Linked DNA regions of Homo sapiens: all the other regions are linked to region 3. Evidence: promoter capture Hi-C in 16 types of primary human blood cells and fetal thymus (Javierre and others, 2016). All regions are on one chromosome and are shown on one strand. Each heading gives the region's core, a stretch centred on a gene start or on the middle of the fragment in contact. The rest is flanking DNA. Distances are from core to core; before and after follow the strand shown. Region 1 overlaps ZNF157 (zinc finger protein 157). Region 2 overlaps ZNF41 (zinc finger protein 41). Region 3 holds the start of INE1 (inactivation escape 1).

Evidence for each region. Contacts are between HindIII fragments. The CHiCAGO score rates a contact against its expected background, and 5 or more counts as called.
Region 1: a contact is called between a fragment that was not itself captured here and the fragment with the promoter of INE1 in region 3, in 2 of 17 cell types (non-activated CD4 T cells and total B cells). The highest score is 5.6, in non-activated CD4 T cells.
Region 2: a fragment that was not itself captured here is called in contact with the fragment with the promoter of INE1 in region 3 in 2 of 17 cell types (naive CD8 T cells and naive CD4 T cells); the score reaches 5.2 in naive CD8 T cells.

Annotation. Positions count from the first base shown.
Region 1 is chrX:47,407,757-47,411,231 of GRCh38, reverse strand. ZNF157 (zinc finger protein 157) reads right to left here. Exons shown (of 4, transcript NM_003446.4): 2 at 830-956; 3 at 457-552. Among named protein-coding and RNA genes, the nearest start is that of SNORA11C, 21 kb to the right of the region's middle. The HindIII fragment of the contact is 6,293 bases long and covers 1-3,475 here.
Region 2 is chrX:47,457,866-47,461,338 of GRCh38, reverse strand. The region is part of intron 2 of ZNF41 (zinc finger protein 41); the gene reads left to right. Among named protein-coding and RNA genes, the nearest start is that of LINC01560, 23 kb to the left of the region's middle. The HindIII fragment of the contact is 2,337 bases long and covers 914-3,250 here.
Region 3 is chrX:47,203,099-47,206,097 of GRCh38, reverse strand. It overlaps INE1 (inactivation escape 1), which reads right to left and starts at 1,250. Exons shown (of 1, transcript NR_024616.1): 1 at 237-1,250. UBA1 (ubiquitin like modifier activating enzyme 1) reads right to left here. Exons shown (of 26, transcript NM_003334.4): 13 at 2,884-2,964; 14 at 2,402-2,557; 15 at 1-150. LOC105373194 (a long non-coding RNA gene) reads left to right here. Exons shown (of 3, transcript XR_949047.4): 3 at 748-1,830. The HindIII fragment of the contact is 2,713 bases long and covers 1-1,306 here.

The DNA of each region.
Region 1 (3,475 bases), core at 550-3,049, 200 kb before region 3:
AGATCACTTGAGGTCAGGAGTTCGTGACCAACCTGGCCAACATGGTGAAACCCTGTCTCTACTAAAAGTACAAAAATTAGCCAGGCGTGGTGGCACGCACCTGTAATCCCAGCTGCTCAGGATGCTGAGGCAGGAGAATCGCTTGAGCCCGGGAGGTGGAGGTTGTGGTGAGCTGAGATCGCACCACTGCACTCCAGCCTGGATGACAGAGTGAGACTCCATCAAAAAAAAAAAAAATCAAGATAAAACCGGAGAAAGCACTGAAGTTTGAGTGTGATATTAAGATGTGTGACTTTGGTATCTGAAGCATGTAGACCTTCCGTCCTTATTTTCAAAGAGCTAGGAACTCTAAAAAGAGATTCCTAGAAAGTGTTGCACAAGCATACCCTTTGACCTGAATTCCTGGGCTCTTATTTCCCCTATTTTCCATATGTCCAGTTCTTGCCCAGTACTTACCTGAGTAACCATGGCCTGAGGATTCCTCCTCTAATATCCACAGCTCTTCTCCTCGCTCCAACTTGAAGATCATCTCTGGTTTGGCCACGCAGAGGCCTGTTAATGGGAAATGGCACAGGACGTGGGCCAAGTTGTCTGAGCTCTAGGGCCTCTGATGGAGGAGGAAGGTGCATCTTCATGAGCTGCACAAGGAAGGGGGCCCATTTAAACCTTTCATTGGGGAAGTAAGAACGCACACATTTTTTCTGGTGCCCTAAACTGATTACTCATCTGTGACTCTTAATATCATTAAACCCTCGCAAGGCTGCACATGTTACAGCAACCAAGAAAGGAAACACACGCTCTCAGGAGTTACACGGACAATCATCCTCACCCACAGATGCCAGGTTGCTGTAGGTCTCCAGCATCACATCCTTGTGCATGGTCCTCTGAGCAGGGTCCAGTCTGTGCCACTCCTGTCGGGTGAAATCCACAGCCACATCCTCGAATGACACGGACCCCTGTAATAACAATCTCCAATGATCAGAATGGGATGCATGAAAAAGATGTGCAGGAACTAATCTTCTCAATGGAGCCCTGTTGAAAGTTGACTAAATAGAGCTACACTGGATACCTGATTTTGTGTCTCGCTTGATATACTTTTGGGGTGGGGGGTACCTGGAACAGCTCTGTTACTGTGTTAATTTATTAATGCATGAAAAAAAGATCACTGCACTCCTGAGTTAACACTATGTGCCTCAGTAAGCATATTTCTGGAAAACCAATGAAAAAACAAACACTATGTGCCTGGACGTGTGCAAGTTGCTGGGTTAAAAAATGAAGAAGGAGGCTGGGCGCGGTGGCTCACGCCTGTAATCCCAGCACTTTGGGAGGCCAAGCTGGGTGGATTGCCTGAGATCAGGAGTTCAAGACCAGACTGGCCAACAGAGATGGGGTGAACCCCATCTCTACTAAAAATACAAAAATTAGCTGGGTGTGGTGGTGCACATCTGTAGTCCCAGCTACTCAGGAGGCGGAGGCAGGAGAATCACTTGAACCCAGGAGGCGGAGGTTGCAGTGAGCCAAGATCACACCACTGCACTCCAGCTCGGGCAACAGAGCAAGACTCCGTCTCAAAAAAAAAAAAAGAAGCTGGCTGGGCATGGTGGCTCATGCCTATGATCGTAGCACTTTGGGAGGCCGAGGCAGGCGGATCACTTGAGGTCAGGAGTTCGAGACCAGCCTGGCCAACATGGTGAAACCCTATCTCTACTAAAAATACAAAAAAAAAAAAATTAGCCGGGCATGGTGGCAGGTGCCTGCCATCCCAGCTACTTGGGAGCCTGAGGCAGGAGAATCACTTGAACCCGGGAGGTGGAGGTTGCAGTGAGCTGAGATTGCGTCACTGCACTCCAGCCTGGGCGACAGAGAGACCCTGTCTCAAAACAAAGAAACAAAATATATTTATACTTATAAATGATACAGAAGTGCTGTTCTGTGGGAGAAAGGGAGACAGTATTGCTCCCAGGATAACTGCATGAACAGCTGGGATGAGGCTGGAGCCATGTATAGACATTAGCAAAACAGGAGAGACAATGAGTTCATGGAAGAAAAACTGAGATAGACTTTGGAGTGTTTATGGAACATACTGACAGAGATGTCCAGCTGGAGCTCAAGAGAGAAGGCTAGCAGAGGCCAAGGTTTGGGGGGTAAGATCATTCCAGTACTAGCTGAAACCACCAGAATAAATTGGATAGCTAAGAAGGAGCACAGTTTGAGAGAAGCACCAAGTACAGAGTTTGAGGGAACACCAATATGCTATGAAGGTTGCAGAGTAAATTCCTGATATGGTTTGGATCTGTGTCTCCACCCAAATCTCATGTTGAATTGTAATCCCCAGTGTTGGAGGTGGGGCCTGGTGGGAGGGGATTGGATCATGGGGGTGGTTTCTCATGATTTAACACCATCCTCCCTTGGTGCTGTCATCGCCATAGTGAGTTCTCATGAGATCTGGTTGTTTAAGAGTGTGTGGCACCTGTGCCCCAATTCCTCCTGCTCTGGCCATGTAAGATGTGCCTGCTGTCCGGGCGCAGTGGCTCATGCCTGTAATCCCAGCACTTTGGGAAGCTGAAGCAGGTGGACAGCTTGAGCCCAGGAATTTGAGCAGACTGGGCAACATGGTGAAATCCTGTCTCTACAAACAAACAAACAAAAATTAGCTGGGCATGGTGGTGCATGTCTATAATCCCAGCTACTTGAGGGGCTGAGGCAGGAGGATCACTTGAGCCCAGGAGGTTGAGACTGCAGTGAGCCAAGATCACACCACTGCACTCCAGCCTGTGTGACAGAGCGAGATCCTATCTTACACACACACACACAAAGATATGCCTCCGGGCACGGTGGCTCACGCCTGTAATCCCAGCACTTTGGGAGACTGAGGTAGGTGGATCACCTGAGGTCAGGAGTTTGAGACCAGCCTGGCCAACATGGTGAAACCCCATTTCTACTAAAATACAAAAATTAGCGGGGCATGGTGGTGCACACCTGTAATCCCAGCTACTCAGGAGGCTGAGGCAGGAGAATCAGGAATCACTTGAACCCAGGAGGCGGAGGTTGCAATGAGCCGAGATCGTGCCCTTGCACTCTAGCCTGGGTGACAAGAGTGAAACTCCGTCTAAAAAAAAAAAAAAATTTCTTCCTTCTTCCTCTTTGCCTTCTGCCATGGATTGGAAGTTTCCTGAGGCCTCCCCAGAAGCCGTTATGCTTTTTGTACAGCCTGCAGAACCATGAGCCAATTAAATCTCTTTTCTTTATAAGTTACCCAGTCTCAGGTATTTCTTTATAGCAATGCAAGAACAGACTAATACAATTATTAGATGGTAGAAATAGAACCAGGAAAGTGTGGGGTGTTGGAAGGTAGGAGGGGAGACACTTTCAAGTAACAGTGCCATTTCCAGTTTAAAGTGATAGGTAAGAAATGAGCTGGGTATGGTGGTGCAGGCCTGTAATCCCAGCCACTTGGGAGGCTGAGGCAGGAGAA
Region 2 (3,473 bases), core at 833-3,332, 250 kb before region 3:
ATCACCTGAGGTCAGGAGTTCAAGACCAGCCTGGCCAACATGGTGAAACCCTGTCTCTACTAAAAATACAAAAATTGGTTAGGCGTGATGGTGGGTGCCTGTAATCCCAGCTACTAGGGAGGCTGAGGCAGGAGGATCACTTGAACCCGGGAGGTAGAGGTTGCAGTGAGCCAAGATCAAGCTACTGCACTCCAGCCTGGGCGACAGAGTTAAGATCCTGTCTCAAAAAAAAAAAAAAAGAAAAGAAAAGAAAATATCCTTAATTTTTTTTACGAAGACAGTTGATACTGTACATATATTGAATACTGATTTTTTAAAATCACTGTTTTTAAACCTTTTTATCATGAAATATTATACATATTTTGAATAACGCCACTATAAATATTCTTGAATGCATCTCCTGTTGTACATGTGCACATATTCCACGTGGGCATATATATTTCCATGAGTGGACTCACTGTGTCATATTGCCTGCATGTCTTCAACATTACCAGTTAGGGCCAAAATACTTTCCAGCACAGTTGTAGCAATTCCCACCTCCTCCATCAGCAGTATGAGAGTTCTTGCACCATATTCTCTTCAACACTTGGTATTATCAGTCTTTTTCATTTAAGACTTTCTAGGGGTTGTGTAATGCTATCCTTTGTGGTTTTAATTTGTATTCCCTGGCTACTAAGAAGGTTAAACCTTTTTTTATGTTTATTAAAGCCTTGGATTTCCTCTTTTGTAAAATGAATGCTTCACCCATTTTTCTACTAGGTGGTCTCTTTTTTTCTTATTGGTTTGTACAAGTTCTCTACATCTTCTAGCTGAGCCCTTTGTTGATAATGTATGTTGGAGATATCTTCTACTCTGTGACTTTCCCTTTGTTCTCTTTTAATGCTGTGTTTTAAATGAATAGTAGTTCTAAGCTTTGTTGTAGAAAGACTTATCAATTTTCATGGTTCATGTTTGAGAACTATTTTCCTAATTCAAGGTCATGAAGATAGCCATCTGTATTATCTTCTAAAGGCTTTATAGTTTTTGCCTTTCACATTTAAGTCTATAATACATCTGGAATTTATATATACTTTTGAAATGGGATCTCACTCTGTCACCCAGACTGGAGTACAGTGACACAAACATGGTTCACTGCAGCCTCCACCTTCCAGGCTCAAGAGATCTTCCAGCCTAGCCTCCTGAGTATCTGAGACTGCAGGTGCTTGCCACCCCACTCAGCTAATTTTTATATGTGTGCTATATATTTTATTTTTTTGTAGAGACCGAGTCTCGCCATATTGCCCAGGCTGGTTTTAAACCTGGACTCAAGCAATCCTCCTGCCTTGGCCTCCCAAAGTGCTGGGATTACAGGCATGAGCCACTGCACCTGGCCTTGGAATTGATTTTTTTTTTTTTGAGATGGAGTCTCGCTTTTGTCACCCAGGCTGGAGTGCAATGGCGTGATCTCAGCTTACTGCAACCTCCGCCTCCCAGGTTCAAACAATGTTATTGTTTTGGCATGTAATGTGAAATAGAGCTCAGATTTTACTTTATTTTTTCTATACACAACCTTGTCTTCTTTTCTTTCTTTCTTTTTTTTTTTTTTTTTTTTTTTTTAGATAGGGTCTTGCTCCGTCACCCAGGCTGGAGTGCAGTGGCACAGTCATGGTTCACTGCAGCCTCAGCTTCCCAGGTTCAGGTGATTCTCCCACCTCAGCCTCCTGAGTAGCTGGGACTACAGGCACACGCAACCATGCCTGGCTAATTTTTTGTGTTTTTTGTAGAGATGGGGTTTTGCCATGTTGTCCAGGCTGGTCTCAAACTCCTGAGCTCAAGTGATCCACCTGCCTCAGCCTCCCAAAGTGCTGGGGTTACAGGTGTGAGCCTCCACGCCCAGGCCCTGGCAACATTTGTTGAAAATATTTTTCCTCACTATCTGCCTGGACACCTTTGGCATAAATCAGGTGACTGTATATGTGGGTCTGTTTCTGTACTCTTTTTTCTTTTTTTGAGACTGAGTCTCACTCTGTTGTCCAAGCTGGAGTGCAGTGGCCCGGTCTTGGCTCACTGCAACCTCCGCCTTCCAGGTTCTAGTGATCCTCCTGCTTCAGCCTCCCAAGTAACTGAGACTACAGTCACGTGCCACCATGCCCATGTAATTTCTGTATTTCTAGAAGAGACGAGATTTCTCCATGTTGGCCAGGCTGGTCACAAACTCCTGACCTCAAGTGATCCACCTGCCTCAGCCTCCCAAAGTGCTGGGATTACAGGCCTGATCCACTGCACCCGGCCTGTACTCTATATTCTGTTGCAATGGATTATTTGTCTATCCTAGCACCAGGACAACAATGTCTTAAATTTCCATTGCTTTGTAAGTCTTGAGGTCTTGTAAAGCATGTCCTCCCACATTGCTTTAACTATTCAAGAGTGTCTTGGCAGGCCGGGCACAGTGGCTCACGCCTACAATCCCAGTGCTTTAGGAGGCTGAGGCAGGTGGATCACTTGAGGCCAGGAGTTCTAGACCAGCCTAGGCAACATAGGGAGACCCCTGTCTCTACAAAATACAAAAAAAAAAAACAAAACAAAAAAAAAACGAAGCAGCATATGGTGACGTATGCCTGTGGTTGAGGCTGCAGTGGGCTGTGGTTGCGCCACTGCACCCTAGCCTGGGTGACAAAGTGAGACCATGTCTCTGAAAACAAGATACAAAATAATTTTTTTTAAACGCCTTAGCTATTCCTGGCCATTTGCACTTCCACAGAAATTTTAGAATTGGTTTGTCAGATTTTACAAAAATCCTGTTGTGATTTCAATTGGGATGGCATTGAATGTATTGATTTCTGCTTTTTAAAGATTTTTTCTCTTGGGCTTTACTCTATTGTTATTTTTATAATGTCTTTATTTCAATGCTTAATGCATGGAATTTTGGACTTTATTCTTTTGTAATATGAGCACTGGAGACCCTAATTTCCACTTTAGTTACCATTTCTTAATCCAATAAATTCTTACATGTACTGATTACATTGATATTGAGTGTATCTTCTTAGACGATCAGTTATTTTGAACTGTATTTTTAAACTTTAAAATGATGATTTCAGAAAAGTTTCGTCTTATTACTGATTTCTGACTTAAATACACTTGGTTTAGAGATGGTCTGTAAGAGATGGTTTCTGTATCGTCTCTATCTGTGTGCCCTTCCTGGTTCGTCTCATCTGTTTCCCAGCTCTATATGAGAACTCCCAAATCTTACCTCTATAATAGCCCAAAAGCTTATTGTATAACTCCCTGCATGTTTTACCACCTTTATTTCAACATGGACAAAATGTAACATTATGTTTCATTCTCTTCCCCACTCCCTTCCTAATCTACTAGCCCCTCTCAGTATATAACACCACTGTCTGCATGGTTGTACAAAACCGATAACTGAGAATTGCCCTAGAATTCTTTTTCTCACTCCCATAATTCAGGCTCTTTAAAACACAGCATGAACACCT
Region 3 (2,999 bases), core at 1-2,500:
CAGGGCATTGGCCACGCCATCTAGGTTTTGGAAAAAATCGTCATCATAGATGCGCTCCGTGTCAGGACCCACACGGTTCTGGTGGCTTGTCACCCGGATATGTGGATTCATTTGGCGCACAGCTGCAGCAGCCGTGTCAGACTTTAACTTCTAAAGGGTTAAGAAAGTGCAGTTCCAGGGTGGGGATGGGGGAACAAAGCTCACTTATTTGTGCATTCACCCAACAAACATCTTTATTTTTTTTGAGACAGGGTCTCTCTCCATCACACAGGCTGGAATGCAGTGGCATGATCACGGCTCACTGCAGCCTCAACTTCCCAGGCTCCAGCGATCCTCCCACCTCAGCCTCCCGAGTAGCTGGGACCACAGGTGTGTGCCACCATGCGTGGCTAATTTTTGTATTTTTGGTAGAGACAGGGTTTTGTCATGCTGCCCAGGCTGGTCTTGAACTCCTGAGCTCAAAGACCTCGGCCCCACAAAGAGCTGGGATTACAGGCGTGAGCCACCGCACCTGGCCCAAACACCTATAAAGGGCTGTCTGCCTGAGACTGATTTACTTAATGCTGGGGAAGACCCAGGCCCTGAGTTAGGAGGCTAGCAGGAGAGACGGTCTGTGACAATGCCACATGGCCAGGATGATGATGCATGTGGCAGGGGCTCAGCATAAAGGGAAGCTGTGGACAGGAACAGACTGGAGACAATGGGCCAGACATCTGTTCTTTCGTCTAACACCTGCTATTTTTTCAGGTAACAGCACCCAGGATTGATGCAGACTCCCCCAACCACCACCAGGATGCTGGCACACAGACAAGCAGGATCCTTTCAAAGCCCAAATTGGGCCACGTCCCTCCTCTGCTCAGAATCCTCCCCTGGATCCCACCTCCACTTACCGTAAAATGAGTTGGCTCCCTGACCCCTCCCACCTCAGGATCTTTGCGCAGGCTCTTCCACAGCAGAGGGCACTCTAGTCCCTCATATCCTTGAGGTCTTTGCAGAACTCAGGCCTTCCTTAACCATTGTCATCAATACTACAAACCATTCTCCCTGACACCCCGACTTCCCTTGTCTGGTTTTAGTTGTTTCCTTTGAGGAGCACTCATCACCAACATTAACTATATACCTCACGATCGTATTGTGTCTATTGTTTGCTGTCCGTTCCCCTCTCCCTCCAGGAATCTTGTTTTATTCCTTGGTATATCCCCAATACCTAAAACAGTACTAAAACTATCTGGTGAATAAATGAAATAAATGAAAGGGGGAATAAATCCTGGGTAAGCAAAAACGACACTGCTCCTTACAGAAAGCTTCTCAGAGAACCCTGCATAACCAACCCAGTTTCCATATGTGCAGAGAAGTGTAAGCCTAGGAGACTGAAACTACAACCCTTGGAAAGGCCTGCTTCCAAGGTCGGCTCCTTGGCTGGTGTCTGGGAACTTGGAATTCAGGAAGGTTCCCACCGCTCCCTACCTGGTATCAGTGGTTCACTGTGCCTAAACCGTTCATGCAAACAATACAGTTTACGCTGAACACCTTTCCTTCTGGGAGTCTGGAAATTTTGTTATGTGCCAGGAAGGGGGCGCCTACATGACCAGCCCCAAGTAAAAGAGGTGGTGCTGAGTCTAACAAGCTTCCCTGGTTGGCAACATTTCATGTCTTGTTACACCTTGTTGCTGTTATTTCTGTAGTTACTGTTGCTACTGGGGAAATAAAGGCCGCCTTGTTTAACTCCCGCTGGGAGAAGACTCCTAGAAACTTGCACCAGCCTTTTCCCTTTGCTGATTTTGGTCTGTATCCTTTTGCTGTAATAAATTGTAGCCACAAGCACGACTATATGCTGAGTCCTGTAAGTACTCTAGGTGAATTGAGCTTGAGAGTAGTTTTGAGGACCCCAGACACACTGTCCCAACCAGCACTAAAAAGAGGTTAAGGCAAAAAAAAAAAAAAAAAAAAAAAAAAAACAGAAGCTGAGGGAAAGAAAGGCCAAAAAGAAGGGCTTCTGGCAGAGGCAGAAAGATCTCTGACAGAAAGAATGGGAACAAGAAAAAGGAGGGGTGAGGTGTGGTGGCTCACGCCTGTAATACCAACACTTTGGGAGGCTGAAGCAGGCAGATCACCTGAGGTCGGGAATTCGAGACCAGCCTGACCAACATGGAGAAACCCTGTCTCTACTTAAAATGCAAAATCAGCCGGGCGTGGTGGCGCATGCCTGTAGTCCCAGCTACTCAGGAGGCTGAGGCAGGAGAATCGCTTGAACCCAGGAGGCAGAGGTTGTGGTGGGCCAGAGATCACGCCACTGCACTACAGCCTGGGCAACAAGAGCGAAACTCCGTCTCAAAAAAAAAAAAAAAAAGAAAAAGGAGGAAAGTGAGACGACAAAGCCCCAACCTCCTACCCTACTCACCGTGACATCCCAGGGCCGGAAAAGAAACTGTCGATTCAGATTTGACTTCTCAATGGTGTCCATGTCTGTAACGATGATTTCTCCACCCTCCCCGCAGCCCAGCCCAATCATGGCAAAGTTCTTGAGCAGCTCACAGCCAATGGCCCCCGCACCCACCTAAGAAGCAACCAAGAAGACAGGCAGAGGCTGGTCAGGGTGATGCAGGTTAGTGTGAAGCTACCCATCACCCCTCACTCCCCTGAGAGACGGGGAGAGGGGCTAACACCACATCTTCAGGTTGCAGGACTCTAAGAAATGACACGCAGTCATGTGAGGAAGGAGGCACCAGAAGGGGAAACGAGGGATGCACTGGGCTTCCCTTCAAGATAAGGAGAATGGCAAAGAGAATGCGCCACCGGTTGCATTGAGATGCCGAAGGAAGCCCCAGGGGTGATGGCCAGAGGCCAAGATGAGGGGAGCAGACATCCAAGGGGACCACTTACCAGGAAATACTTCTGCTTGCCCAGCTTCTCTTGCAGGTCTGAGCCAAACACAGCCACTTGCCCGTCATAACGGTTCTGGCGCTAAGGAATGCAAAGGGAGGAGGGTTAGAGAGGCC